3 separate regions of the Homo sapiens genome follow, and regions 2 and 3 are each linked to region 1. The links are contacts of gene promoters, found by promoter capture Hi-C in blood cells and fetal thymus (Javierre and others, 2016). All regions are on one chromosome and are shown on one strand. The core of a region is centred on a gene start or on the middle of the fragment in contact, and the rest is flanking DNA. Distances in the headings are between cores, read along the strand shown. Region 1 holds the start of PRXL2A (peroxiredoxin like 2A). Region 2 overlaps TSPAN14 (tetraspanin 14). Region 3 overlaps TSPAN14 (tetraspanin 14).

The links. Contacts are between HindIII fragments. The CHiCAGO score rates a contact against its expected background, and 5 or more counts as called.
Region 2: a contact is called between a fragment that was not itself captured here and the fragment with the promoter of PRXL2A in region 1, in 13 of 17 cell types (M2 macrophages, monocytes, naive CD8 T cells and 10 more). The highest score is 8.2, in M2 macrophages.
Region 3: a fragment that was not itself captured here is called in contact with the fragment with the promoter of PRXL2A in region 1 in 4 of 17 cell types (M0 macrophages, M1 macrophages, fetal thymus and 1 more); the score reaches 5.9 in M0 macrophages.

What each region holds. Positions count from the first base shown.
Region 1 is chr10:80,406,111-80,410,235 of GRCh38, reverse strand. PRXL2A (peroxiredoxin like 2A) reads right to left here and starts at 1,685. Exons shown (of 6, transcript NM_032333.5): 1 at 1,593-1,685. RefSeq lists an enhancer at 738-1,331 and a silencer at 1,617-1,906. The HindIII fragment of the contact is 7,614 bases long and covers 1-4,125 here.
Region 2 is chr10:80,512,443-80,516,567 of GRCh38, reverse strand. It overlaps TSPAN14 (tetraspanin 14), which reads right to left. Exons shown (of 9, transcript NM_030927.4): 7 at 2,505-2,549; 8 at 245-364. Among named protein-coding and RNA genes, the nearest start is that of TSPAN14-AS1, 21 kb to the left of the region's middle. The HindIII fragment of the contact is 4,105 bases long and covers 142-4,125 here.
Region 3 is chr10:80,493,421-80,497,545 of GRCh38, reverse strand. All of the region lies in intron 2 of TSPAN14 (tetraspanin 14), which reads right to left. Among named protein-coding and RNA genes, the nearest start is that of TSPAN14-AS1, 40 kb to the left of the region's middle. RefSeq lists an enhancer at 1-192. The HindIII fragment of the contact is 8,190 bases long and covers 1-4,125 here.

The DNA of each region.
Region 1 (4,125 bases), core at 436-2,935:
GGTTCTTGCCACACAAGCCACAGCAGAGAGACTTGGAGCTTCTGCTCAACATTTCACAAAGAAGCAAGAACCCAACTGGCAGGACAGCTGCCCTATTGCTTAGATAGGGACAGAGCCTGGGGCTTGAGCCCTAGAGTTCCAGTCCTATCCAAACTTTCTGAGCACCATTTAAATGACACGAGATGAGAAAATCATCAGAAATGTCTTTTGTACCCCTTCAGAAGTAATGCAGAAGGTCTCAACTAAATGACATGCTCTTATAAAAGACGGGGATATAGGAAAGGCCCACACCAAGAATAATATCTAACTTTAATTCTTGCAAGCTGTATAAACCTGGACAAGGAACTGTTTTGCATCAGTAAAATGGGAATGCTTCCTTAATTACCTTCTACAGAGTTGCAAGAATCAAAGGATTAAATGTATAGGAGGTGCCTTGTGAGGTACCTTACAAAAAGTGCAATAAATACGATGTATAATTCTTCATTTCTAGAGCAATGATTACCCTCAAAACGTTATTTGTACACAAAATGAAGAGTTTTCTGATGAATGAGTATGGTAACGAGTCGGGGTCTGCAGTGGAAATCCCAATCCTCATTCTCCAAAGCTGGGCCCGAGCAGGAGCATTCAAGACTATTCAAGCTGACTTTTTCACAATGCTTTTCAAAACAAATCTTGATTATTTTCTTTTTGAAAAACCACCTGCCAGGTTCAAAGGAAAATACATTAAAATAAAACAAACAAAAAAGCTGAGTTCTGGGTTGCTGGGCTGTGCAGACAGCATGATGTGGCAAGGAAAAGAGGCGCAGGAGCAGCTGGGAACCCCGGTCCGGCAGTGGACTCCCGGGTGTGCCTCCTTCCCACAGCCCTGGACCGGCTGGGCCTTGACTTCCCTTCCTTTGCCTCTAACCATCTCCACCTGCGCCTTCACCTCCCGCTCCAGCAACAACCCTGGGGGCAGATTGTTCATCTTTTCATTCCTAGACCTCAGCAGGGCTGTTAAGTTTACAACTGGGCTCTACCCAATTTAAAGTCAGGCGTTTGTGACTCTTGGGAAAGAGGGGGAACAGGTGCCTCCGAAACGCTGAACAACGCTAGAAACCGTGCCCTCTTAAAAGACACGACCCTAAGCGGGCACAGAGACGAGGACGAGGACTGCCAGGTCCGCACCTGGGGCTGGTCCAGCAGGGCGGCCCCCGGGCCCATGCTCCAGGGCAGGGCCCTCTCCTCTGTTCTTTGTCCCAACAATTCGCGAAGGTTGGCGCCACCGGCGTCACTCAAGGCTTGCGGGCGTGGACAGAGGGGGCCCTAGCCCGCCGCAGCAGCGCCGGGTCCCCGTCTCCGTTCTCCGACGTCTGGGCGCAGGGTTTTTCCATCGGCCGCCACGCAGGGTGGCGGAAGGGTCGTCGTCCTCGGAGGGAGCGCCAGCGCTGCGGCGGCTCCTAAGAAAGTTGGCGCGGGCCCGAGGGGCGCGCCTCACCAGCCCAGCACCCACCCTACCGGCCCTGCACTGCCTCAGTTTCCCCACCTACGCCGCGGCAGGCCCCGCCTACGGACATCACGTGCCTCGCGGAGCCCCGGCGCGCAGCACCTACCTCAAGTGCCTCCCTTCTGCCGGCCTTTTACCGCCCCGACGCCCGGGCGCTAAGGGGCCAAACCGCCCGGCCCGGAGGGTCCCAGGGGCGGGCCCCGCGCTTGCGCAGCCTCTAGCCTGTGCTGCATCGCGCGCTACCGCGCCACCGCCATGTGACCCGCCCCGCCCCCCGTGGGAGGAGCTCCGGGCCTGCCCCCGACTCGCCGACCTCCGGGCCGCGGTCTCCTAGCTCCGGTGGCGCTCGGGCGTGTGCCCCAGCGGTCCTTTTACGCACAGCGCTCGGTCGGTCCACTCCTCAAGTCCGCGAACCGAGGCCCCGACGCGTTCTTCAGGGCGCTGCCTAGGGCAAAAGAAGGCGCTGGACACCCCTAATGGAGCCTGGAAGCACCTGTCCTGCAGCCGAGGCTGGCCAACTTCCTTCCAATCTTCAGCCTGGTTTTGAATAGCTCTTTTGATAGGTTTTTTTTTTTTTTTTAACCTCCATGGGCAGGGGGAATCTAAAGGACCGACACATTCGATGAGCCCCTTCAAGCTGTATGTACAGATTCAGAATTTCCAACCTCAATCCTCCACCCACGTTCCCTTTCACTCCACAATGCCAGCTATGGGGCAGAGAACGGTGAGCCGCAGCCTTGCGGACTCCGGGCGACGCTGAGGCGGGTGTGTCACACACCGCTCATCCACTTACTCCTCCTGTTGGAAGTGCCCACTCTTTCATGAAAGTAGGAGGTTGTGTCCGGCGCGCTGGCTCACGCCTGTAATCTCAGGGCTTTGGGAGGATCGCTTGAGCCCAGGAGTTCAAGACCAGTCTGGGCACCATAGTAAGACTCCATCTCTACGTAAAAAACAAAAACTAGCCAGGCATAGTGGCGCGTGCCTGTATTTCCAGCTACTCTGGAGCTGAGGTGGGAGGATCGCTTGAACCCGGGAGGCGGAGGTTGCAGTGAGCCCAGATCGCGCCACTGCACTCCAGCCTGTCTTTAAAAAACAAAAAAAAGACCCTGTCTTAACAACAAAAAACAAAAAGTAGGAGGTTGGACTTTCAGAGACAGCAGAGCTGACTCACGATACATATTAGTGGTTGGCCGGGCTCGGTGTCTCATGCCTGTAATCCCAACACTTTGGGAAGCCAAGGCGGGCAGATCACTTGAGGGCAGGAGTTCGAGACCAGCCTGACCAACATGGCAAAACCTCGTCTCTACTAAAAATACAAAAATTAGCCGGGTGTGGTGGCGCGCACCCGTAGTCCCAGCTACTCAAGAGGCTGAGGCAGGAGAATAGCTTGAACCCCGGAGGTGGAGGTTGCAGTGAGCCGAGATGGTGCCACTACACTCCAGCCTGGGTGACAGAGTGAGATTCCGTCTCAAAAAAAAAAAAAAAAGACATATCGGTGACACAGTGCAAAGACCAGTCACAGGGCAGCATAAGGTGAAGTGGCAAAGCAGGCCGATGTCCGCCCGTCAAAGGTGGTCATTTGCCTGCAACACCTTCCCCCCTTCATCTGGGAGCTGCCCACAGGTGTACAAAGTCCAAAGGCTTCCGTGATTCACCTCCCTGACTTCCCACTCAGACTCCATGTTCCATGTAAACTTACAGCAACACTTGGGGAGCTTGATCTATTCAAGGGGGTCTCTCCTCAACCAAACTGTGAATTCCTCCACTTCACCTCTGGGACCCTAGAGCCTGGCCCAGGGACAGCGTGGAAATAAACTTAGAAAACGTGAGAGGTGGATCTAAGTTGTGGGGTAAGGGAGATCAGCCTGAGTGCCCATGCAGTTTTCCTGCAGGAGTTAGGCATATGATTTGAAGGCCAGAAAATATTTCGTATACTTTGGTGCAATGCGGGTGTAGTTTTATATATATATATATATATATATATATATATATGATATATAAGATATATATAAGATATATATGAGATATATAAGATATATATGATATATGTATAAGATATGTATGATACATATATCTCTCTCCAGAGGACCTTTCTTTCTTCTCCCTTGTTTCTCCTTACCTTGTGAAGAGGAGCGGGAGAAGGGTCAATCTTTCCATCCCAAAATAGGAAGTTCAAAGGTGAGGAGGGTTTGCAGGGAAGGCCACTTAGAACAAAACAGGAAGTCATTTCCTTGGGAAATGAGTTCTTGGAGACTGACCATTAATGACAGAGCCATTCAGGGGTTGAGGATAGCAGAATTCTGGGGTGGAAGGTCCCCTGAGGCTTTAACTGTGATGTAATTACTAATCACGTGCAAAAGTCATGCTTATATTTACACTTCGGTAACATCCTGAAGATCTGGACTTCAAAAACCAGGCTACATCTGATAGCTAATTAATATGCTCCTCACATGCCCACGTTTCTTTTTGTACAAGAAAGCACAGGCTGAACTCATTAAAAAACAGTCATTAGACCAGAAAAATAAGTTACAGGCAAGCAGGCGCAGGAAAACTTATTTACAAAGCTCAAGGACTAAAACCAAAAACCAAACCAAAACAAAAAACCTGAAGAATAAACCAAGAAAACCCACCAACCTGCC
Region 2 (4,125 bases), core at 945-3,444, 110 kb before region 1:
CTCCCAGCCTGCCCCCGCCCAGAGGGCCCCCCTATAGGTAGCGTTTATGGAAGCCACCATTCTCCTCCCCAATACACTTACACGCATACACTCTCTCAGCCTTGGACATCCAGTTGAATCCCTTTTTTTCTTCTGCAAGCTTCCTTAATACCATACCCAAACTGGACCCATGCACTCTATGTTAAGGGCCCAATCTCAAATGAAAAAAGGCCACCTGCCAATCCTATAGGCTCCTGGGACACACCTGCAACAGCGAGATGGCGATGAAGACGCCAGCCACAATGTAAATGTTCCGCGGGAGCCAGCTTTCCAGCGCCTGGATGCAGCCTTTCGTGAAGATGGACTCATCCCACTTGCTCTTCAGCTGCAGGAAAACACCACAGGGGTCTGAGCCTTTGGCACACACGATGTCCCCACCTGATCCCCTAGTGAGCTCTGGTAAGGAGCAGGGCAAAGCAGGGTGGGAACGAGGGATCCAGGAGGCAGGCAAGGAGGACTCTCCAGGAGATGCTCGTCAGCTCCTCTCAGCCTCTGCCCCTCGCTGGGCACTGTGCCATCGCACCACCTGTCTGACCAAAGGCTCCCTGGCTGTTTCCTTTCAGGTCTCCAGAGATTTAAAGCCCAACTTTCTCAAGATACCCTTCCCCACCATCCACATCTGGAGAAAGAGAAGGGGCTTGAAGGCTTGGAGGAAAATGTGCCTCTAAAGGGAGAGAAACCTGGAGAAGGGGGTCCAGAGTCTCCTAAGAAGAGAAGAAGGGTGCTTCTCGGAGCGGGCATCCCACCAGTAAGCTCAGCTCCAGGAGACAGAGCCAGCAGGCAACAGTCGCCAGCCAACCAGCTCCCTCCACTGCTAACCCCGGTGGGGTGTCAGTAACCATCCCAGCACACACCCCAGCCCTGCCCACCCCACACAGGGCAATCGGCCCCAGCCCCCTCACACCTATCAGCCTCCTCCATGGCAACATGATGGAGTATTAGCCCCTAATTTTAGAGGTGTTAGGAGCTAAATTGTGTCCTCAAAATCCATACACTGAAGTCCTAACCCCCAGGACTTCAGAAGGTGACTGTATTTGTAGACAGGCTCTTTACAGAGGTAATTATGCTAAAATGAGGCCATCAGGGTGCCCCCTAATCCAATATGAAGAGCATCCTGCTAAGAGGAGGAGATCAGGACACAGACATGCACAGAGGGGAGCCCACGTGAGGACACAGGGAGAGGACAGCCACCTGCAGCCAGGAGAGAGGCCTGGAACAGACCCTTCCATCACAGCCCTCTGAAGGCACCCACCTCACCTCGCCAGCACCTTGATCTTGGACTTCTAGCCTCCAAACTGTGAGAAAATAAATGCCTGCTGTGGCTTAAATTTCTGTCTGTGGTATGTTGTGACAGCAGCCTTAGCAAATTAATATAAGTGGCAAAAAAAATCATAATTAGGGAAGCTGATGTTGATATAGGTTCTTATCTTAGTCCATTCAGGCAACTAGAATAAAATACTATAGATTAGGTGGCTTATAAACAACAGAAATTTATTTCTCACAGTCCTGGAGGCCGGGAAGTTCAAGATCAGGACACTGGCAAATTCAGTGTCGGATGAGGGCCCACTTTCTGGTTCATGGATGGCACCCTCTCACTGTGTCTTCACACAGTGGAGTGACAAATAAGCTCTCTGGGCCTCTTACATAAGGACACTCATCCCACTCATAAGGACTCTGCCCTCATGACCCAATCCCCTCCCCAAGACCCCACCTCTTAAATACCATCACATTGGAGTTTAAGTTCCAACATGTGAATTTTGGAGAGACACACACATTCAGTTTACAGCACTTTCTCCCTGTGAAATGCAGGTCCCTAAAGGAGGACAGTTCCCCAAGCTGTAGGGACACATCCCTCATATCCACGGCTAACAGGTGGGGTCTCTGAAGATTCCTCGAGACTCCTCCCTTTTAGAACAGCAGTCATTCATATCACCAAAGACCACTAGAACAAGGACTGGAGTGGGGTGGGGTCTTCCTTCTCTTTGCATCTAAGAGCACACTCCCTACAGCCTAAAGGAAGTCCTGGAGGACAGAGCCTCGCCCCTGCCCCAGGCCTGCCTCCCTCTTTGTCACTACTGCCTCCACACGGAGGCCAGAACAAGGCACCTACACTCCTGCAGCTGTCCCCTTAACGAGAGACGTCTTCTGGGATGCCAAGGAGCCTCCTAAAAATGCAGTCTTTGTCCCTCAAAACTTCCATCCCACCTCTTTAAATGCAGCAACTCCTAGATGTTGGGACTGCAGCTCACAAGGCTTAGAATCACCATTACTGCTCCCAGGAGTCCTGCCGCCAGCTCAGGAAGCAGTGTATGTGACCCTGTGCCTATGCTCAGCTTAGGTGGCATCAAGAGCTTCACTGCCCTGAGTTTTCCCACTTCAATTTGCACTCGTGCTAAATCAGAATGTTGAACCACAGGGAATAAAACCTAAAGAACTCTTCAAGTTGTATACATGGGAGTTCTCACCTGAATCCTGACATCATATCCACACTGTGTGTTCACAACTTTTTGCTGCAAGAAAAGCAGAAAAATTAGTTGCTTCTGGCGTCTCAAGAAGCTGGTGCTAAGAGGCTCTAGTAAAGTCACAACCAAACACTAGCAAACATTTGTGCAAATTCCATTACAGCTCATGTCCTTCAATCATGCCACCAACTAATCCTTCAGACCAGGACAGGGTGGCAAACTTTCTCTGTGAAGGGCTAGAGAGTGAGTACTTCAGACACAGACTCAATTCCGCTTTTGTTGCATGAGAGCCGGCACTGACAATCTGTAAACAAACAGGAATGGCTGTATTTCAAGAAAACTTTATGGACACTGAAATTTGAATTTCATATAATTTTCACGTACCACAAAATATTATTCTTCTTTTGATTTATTTCCAACCATTTAAAAACATCTGAATGCATTCTTAACTCACAGGTCATGGAAAAATAGCAAGCCAGATTTGGCCTGGGGGCCACAGTTTGCTAGGAGGTAAGACCTATACTTGGAGGTAAGAACTATATGTGCTAAAAGCAACACTTACAAGACTGGTACATTTCACAGTCGCAGTGGAGACCTCAGAAGAGCTGTGCAGCTTCAGCAAATCTGAGCCTCTCCTGGGCTGCAGAACTTGCCCATATAATAGTGGTGATGCTCTGCCTTCTCAAAGCCTGTAACCCAGGACCAGGCTTTGCATAACTGCACCGAGAGCTGGCAACTGGCCCAGTTCTACTCAGGCTCAGTTCAGGCAAAATTCAGAGCTCCTTCACAGTTCACCCCAAGAACCCAGCTTCTGGAACCCAAGGACGTTGGCCTTGGATTGGGAATGCCAATAGGTAAAGAAAGGACAGGACAGGCACAGCGGCCCACACCTGTAATCCCAGCACTTTGGGAGGCTAAGATGGGCAGATCGCTTTGAGCCCAGGAGTTTAAGACCAGCCGGGGCAACATGGTGAAACCCCATCTCTACAAAAAATACAAAAATTAGCCAGGTGTGGTGCTCAAGCCTGTGGTCCCAGCTACTTGGGAGGTTGAGGCTGGAGAATTGCTTGAGCCCGGGGAAGCAATGGTTGTACAGTGAGCTGAGATCGCACCACTGCACTCCAGCCTGAGTGACAGAGTGAGACACTGTCTCTAAAATAAAACCAAACAACAACAACAACAACAACAACAACAAACAGAAAATAATTAGCCGGGTGTGGTGGCGTGCACCTGTAATCCCAGCTACTCAGGAGGCTGAGGCAGGAGAATCGCTTGAACCCAGGAGACAGAGGTTCCAGTGAGCCAAGATCATGCCACTACACTCCAGCCTGGGCGACACAGCAAGACCCTGTCTCAAAAATAAAAGAAAGAGAAAAAGAAAGAAAATAATTCTCCACTACTGTTCCCCAGTTAATGATGTGTACCCACAGCCCCCGTGCACTGTTGAGTTCTAGGAATCTGCTCCAGAAAAAGGACAGGGAAGAGGGATAAGCGGGCCTTATTTCACTCATAGCTCTTGGCCAGCTGCAAGTGACAGCCCTCCAGGTAGAAATAATACTGTTTTTCTCCTGCCTCACCCAGAACACCAAGGCCAGGGTGGGTCATGCAAGCAGTGTTCCTAGAA
Region 3 (4,125 bases), core at 1,143-3,642, 87 kb before region 1:
TTCTGTAAAGGGCCAAATAGTAAATATTTTCAGCTTTGTGTGCTGGATGATCCCCGTAGCAATTACTCAACTCTGCTGTTATAATGGGAAAGCAGCCATAGATAATACATAAATGAATGGGTGTGGCTGTGTTCCAATAAAATTGTATGTGTAAAAACAGGCGGAAGGCCAGGTTTGGCCTGCAAGCCATAGTCTGAAAAGCTCAGCTGTAAACTATCACACTAAAACCATCTGGACCTGGAGAGGAAAGATGGGATGTCATCCTGCTCAGCCACACAAAGCCTGGGATACCCTATACTCAGGTCTCCAACACTGGTATGTTTTTATATCACTGTAACAGGTCTTAATAGCCTAAAACTGTAAATAACACAAATTATATATCCCCACAATAGAATATTACACAACAAGAATAAATGATCTACAACTACGTATAACTGCATGAATGAATCTCACATATGATATTAAATGAAAGATGTCAGACACAAAAGACTTAATACTGTTAGGGAAGAATACTTAGTAGAAAAACTATAACTAATATCCAATCAAAAGTTACTAGATAGGCAAGAAAAGGAAAGAAGTGAGCTATAAGAGAAAAAATTCAGTAAATAGAAGACACAAGAATGACAAAGAAGATGAAATCCCAACAACTTCAAAACAAGTATTGCAAATATGTTCAGGAATTTAAAGGAAAATATAAATAAGATAAGGAAAGAAATTGGAGACATAAAAAATACCTAAATGTAACGACTAGAAATAGAAACTACAATATTAGAATTGAAGACTTCACTAGATGGGTTTAACAGCCAATGAGACAGTATGGAAGAAAAGATCAGTAAAGCTGAAGACAAAGCTATGGAAACTAAAGGAGAATGGTAAAACACTCAACAAAATAAAAAACTAAACCGAGCCTCTGTGCCCTAGATAAACAATGTCCTAGGGAAATGGGACAGGGAAGGGGAGAAAAAGGGTGTGCGTTTGAAAACATAATGGCTAAAATATTCCAAATCTGATGAAAACTATAAACCCACAAATCTCAAAGGCCCAATGAACCCCAAACAGAATAAACACAAAGACAACTATACCAGCATGTATAAAATTGCTATAATCCAGAATAAAAGGAGAAACTCTTGAAGTCAGCCTGGAGGTGGGAGGAGACACAGTTCATAGAGTATGCATATGCGAACTATTTTTACCAAATCAAGTGAAAACATATCAAAATGTGTGGGATGCAGAAAATGTACAGCTTCAAATATTTATATTAGGAAAAAAATCTAAAAATCAGTGATCTAATCTTCCAGTTTAAGTAGCTAAGAAAAAGCAAAATAATCCCAAGTAGAAAGGAAAAAATAATAAAAATAAGAACACCAATCAAGGTGAATGTGAATGTACTTAACGCCAATGAACTATACACTTAAATGGTTTTAATAACAAATGTTCTGTTACGTATATTGTACAATTAAAAAATAAGAAATTATTTCAAAAGATTTTTAAAAAGTAATTAAAAACAGAAAAACAACAGAGACACTACCACCTAACTAAAAAAAAGTCAGATACCAAAGAGTTTAATTTATAGCAACAGGAGGCAGAACAACCATCACCCAGGGAAGGGGTAGGGTGGGGCAGGCATGACTGTAGGGGCACAAGGAAAGTTTCTGGGGTGATGGGAATGTTTTATATCTTCATTGTGATGATGGTGATTATGTGGCATGTACAGCTGTCACTGAACTGTACAGTTGAAATGAATAAATGTTATTCTATCTAAATCAGACATCAACAGAAGTGATCATTATAAAAAGGATTTCCATTAAAGAAAAAAAGTACAAACAAGAAAAATCACTCCTGTAGACTATGCCATGCTGATTATTTACCAGCCAAGGAGGCAGAGTTATACAAGCACACCAAACTACTTAAGACTTGAAAGTACGTGCAAGCATTTAACAGTCCTGTGTGCCAGGCAATAATCTCAGAGCACCTTGAACATCCCTTCCTCAGTAATCCCAACTGGTGGTCCCAGCCTCACACTTGCCTAAGTTGGGGAAATCAGGGGCTGAGGCCATGCAGGCATCAGCACCACAGGCCACTCCTTAAGTTCTAGTGGAGTTTCTGATTAAGCAATCCCTGCCCTCTGCCTTGGCAAGCCTAAATGATGAAATACACACATGTACATACACACACACACACACACACACACACACACACACACACACACAGTGCCAAAAGACAGTCAACTTCCTATGAATTGGGGCAGTCGTTCTGGGGATGTGATTTTGACTGTATGTTCAGGCAGGTCAAAACAATGTACACACCTTGTGACCCAATTAATCTCTCCTGGGAATCTATCTCAGCAAATAATTTCCCTCCCTTCCCTAAAGGGAAGAATGCGTATTACATAAACTAATCACTGCATCCTTATCTAGGATAGCAAAAAAATTGGAAACAACCTAAATGTCCAATATGGGAATTTCTAAAAATACAATTGGAAAGATAATGTTGCAACCTGGAATGTTCTATATTAGTAGATGTTCTATATTAGCAGATGCTGATGTGAAAATGCGTATCTTAAGACTGCAAGGATACTACTCACAGGATATGAAACTGTGTGCCTGCAGACAGGACGCTGGGGCATGGAAGAGGAAATGCAGTAAACCTGGGATGCCTTGTTTAGCCTTTATGAATTTCCACGAAATTACAAAAGTTGATTAAATACTACCTGAAGAGAAAAAGGGACATCTTCCCAGCAGTGAAAACAAAAATACACTATATACATTATTAAAACACTAGACTTTTCCCTTTTGACTGCATTACTGAGATGGAAATGAAGAAATCATTTGTCTGAAGATCTAGGGATCAGGCCTTGGGGTCTGATATCAAAGGAGCAGAGTTCAGCTCAAATAAGGGCAATTTTCCATCAGTCAGAAGAGCCCAGGAACAGCAGACTATCCTGGGAGGTGGCAAGTCCTCTATAAAGAGGAGCATAATAAAAGTCAGAGGAAGAGAATAAGACCCCACCTGCAAAGATGCCCTACACAGAGGTAAGGGAAGAGAGTTGATCTTTCCACCTTGGGCTTGTCTTCCCTTTCTTGTGCAGGGTGGCCACATGCCCAGGTTTGCACAGGAGAGGCCTGGGGTACACCTGTTGTTCTGGCAAAATTCGCAAGACTCTCTCAAAATTCTCTTACTGTCAAAAGTTGAACCACAGATTACATGTTCGCCCTACTCACAGGAGGCATCTGTGACTTTGAAGGAATAGGCCTTAAGCCATGCTGGTCACAGAGCACAGATGTCCATGGCTCTCATCTCACTCAGAAACAGGCTGCGCAGAGGTGAATTCACACATTTTACAAGGGTAGGCTCAAACAGACCCAAGTCACTGAGAAAGCCAATGGCAGAATGTCATTTAAAAAAAATTTTTTTAAACTAAAGGCAAGCAAAGGACTTTCCTGTGTAACACAGGCCTACAGTCTATTTAGAAAGGGTCTCAGTTCTTCACTTTTAATCCATCTCTGAAGCAGATCCAGGCAAGGACTTCATCCAACCTCTGCATGCAGATTAAAGCCAATGCTTGTGTTGGAAACCAACCCTGGAGTTGCAGACATTATCGGAATCATCCCTCTAGAGGATTCACTCGGCAAACTTAGAAAAGTCCAAGTGCTTTGTGGAACCAGTGGGGGGTATAAATGAACAAAGACAAAGAGCCAGATGCCACTCCTCCAGTGTACGCCTCTCCCAGCTTCCCTTCCTCTGCACATCAAAGTGAGATCTTCTGTACCCACTAACCAACAACTCCCCAATCTTCCCTTCCCGGGCTCCTAGCAACCAACATTCTACTTCCTGTCTCTATGATTCTGACTACTGTGGGCACCTCATATAAGTGGAATTATACAGTGTTTGTCTTTTTGCATCTAGCTTATCTCACTCAGCACTATGTACTCAAGGTTTACCCATGCTGTAGCATGTGACAGAACTGCCTTCCTTTTTAAGCTCTTTCACATCTGTATATCACATTTGGTTATCCACTCAATCATCTATGGACACTTTGGTTGTTTCTACCTTTTGGCAACTGTAAATAATGCTGCTATGAATGTGCACATAGGTGTACAAATATCTCTTCGAGATCCTGCTTTC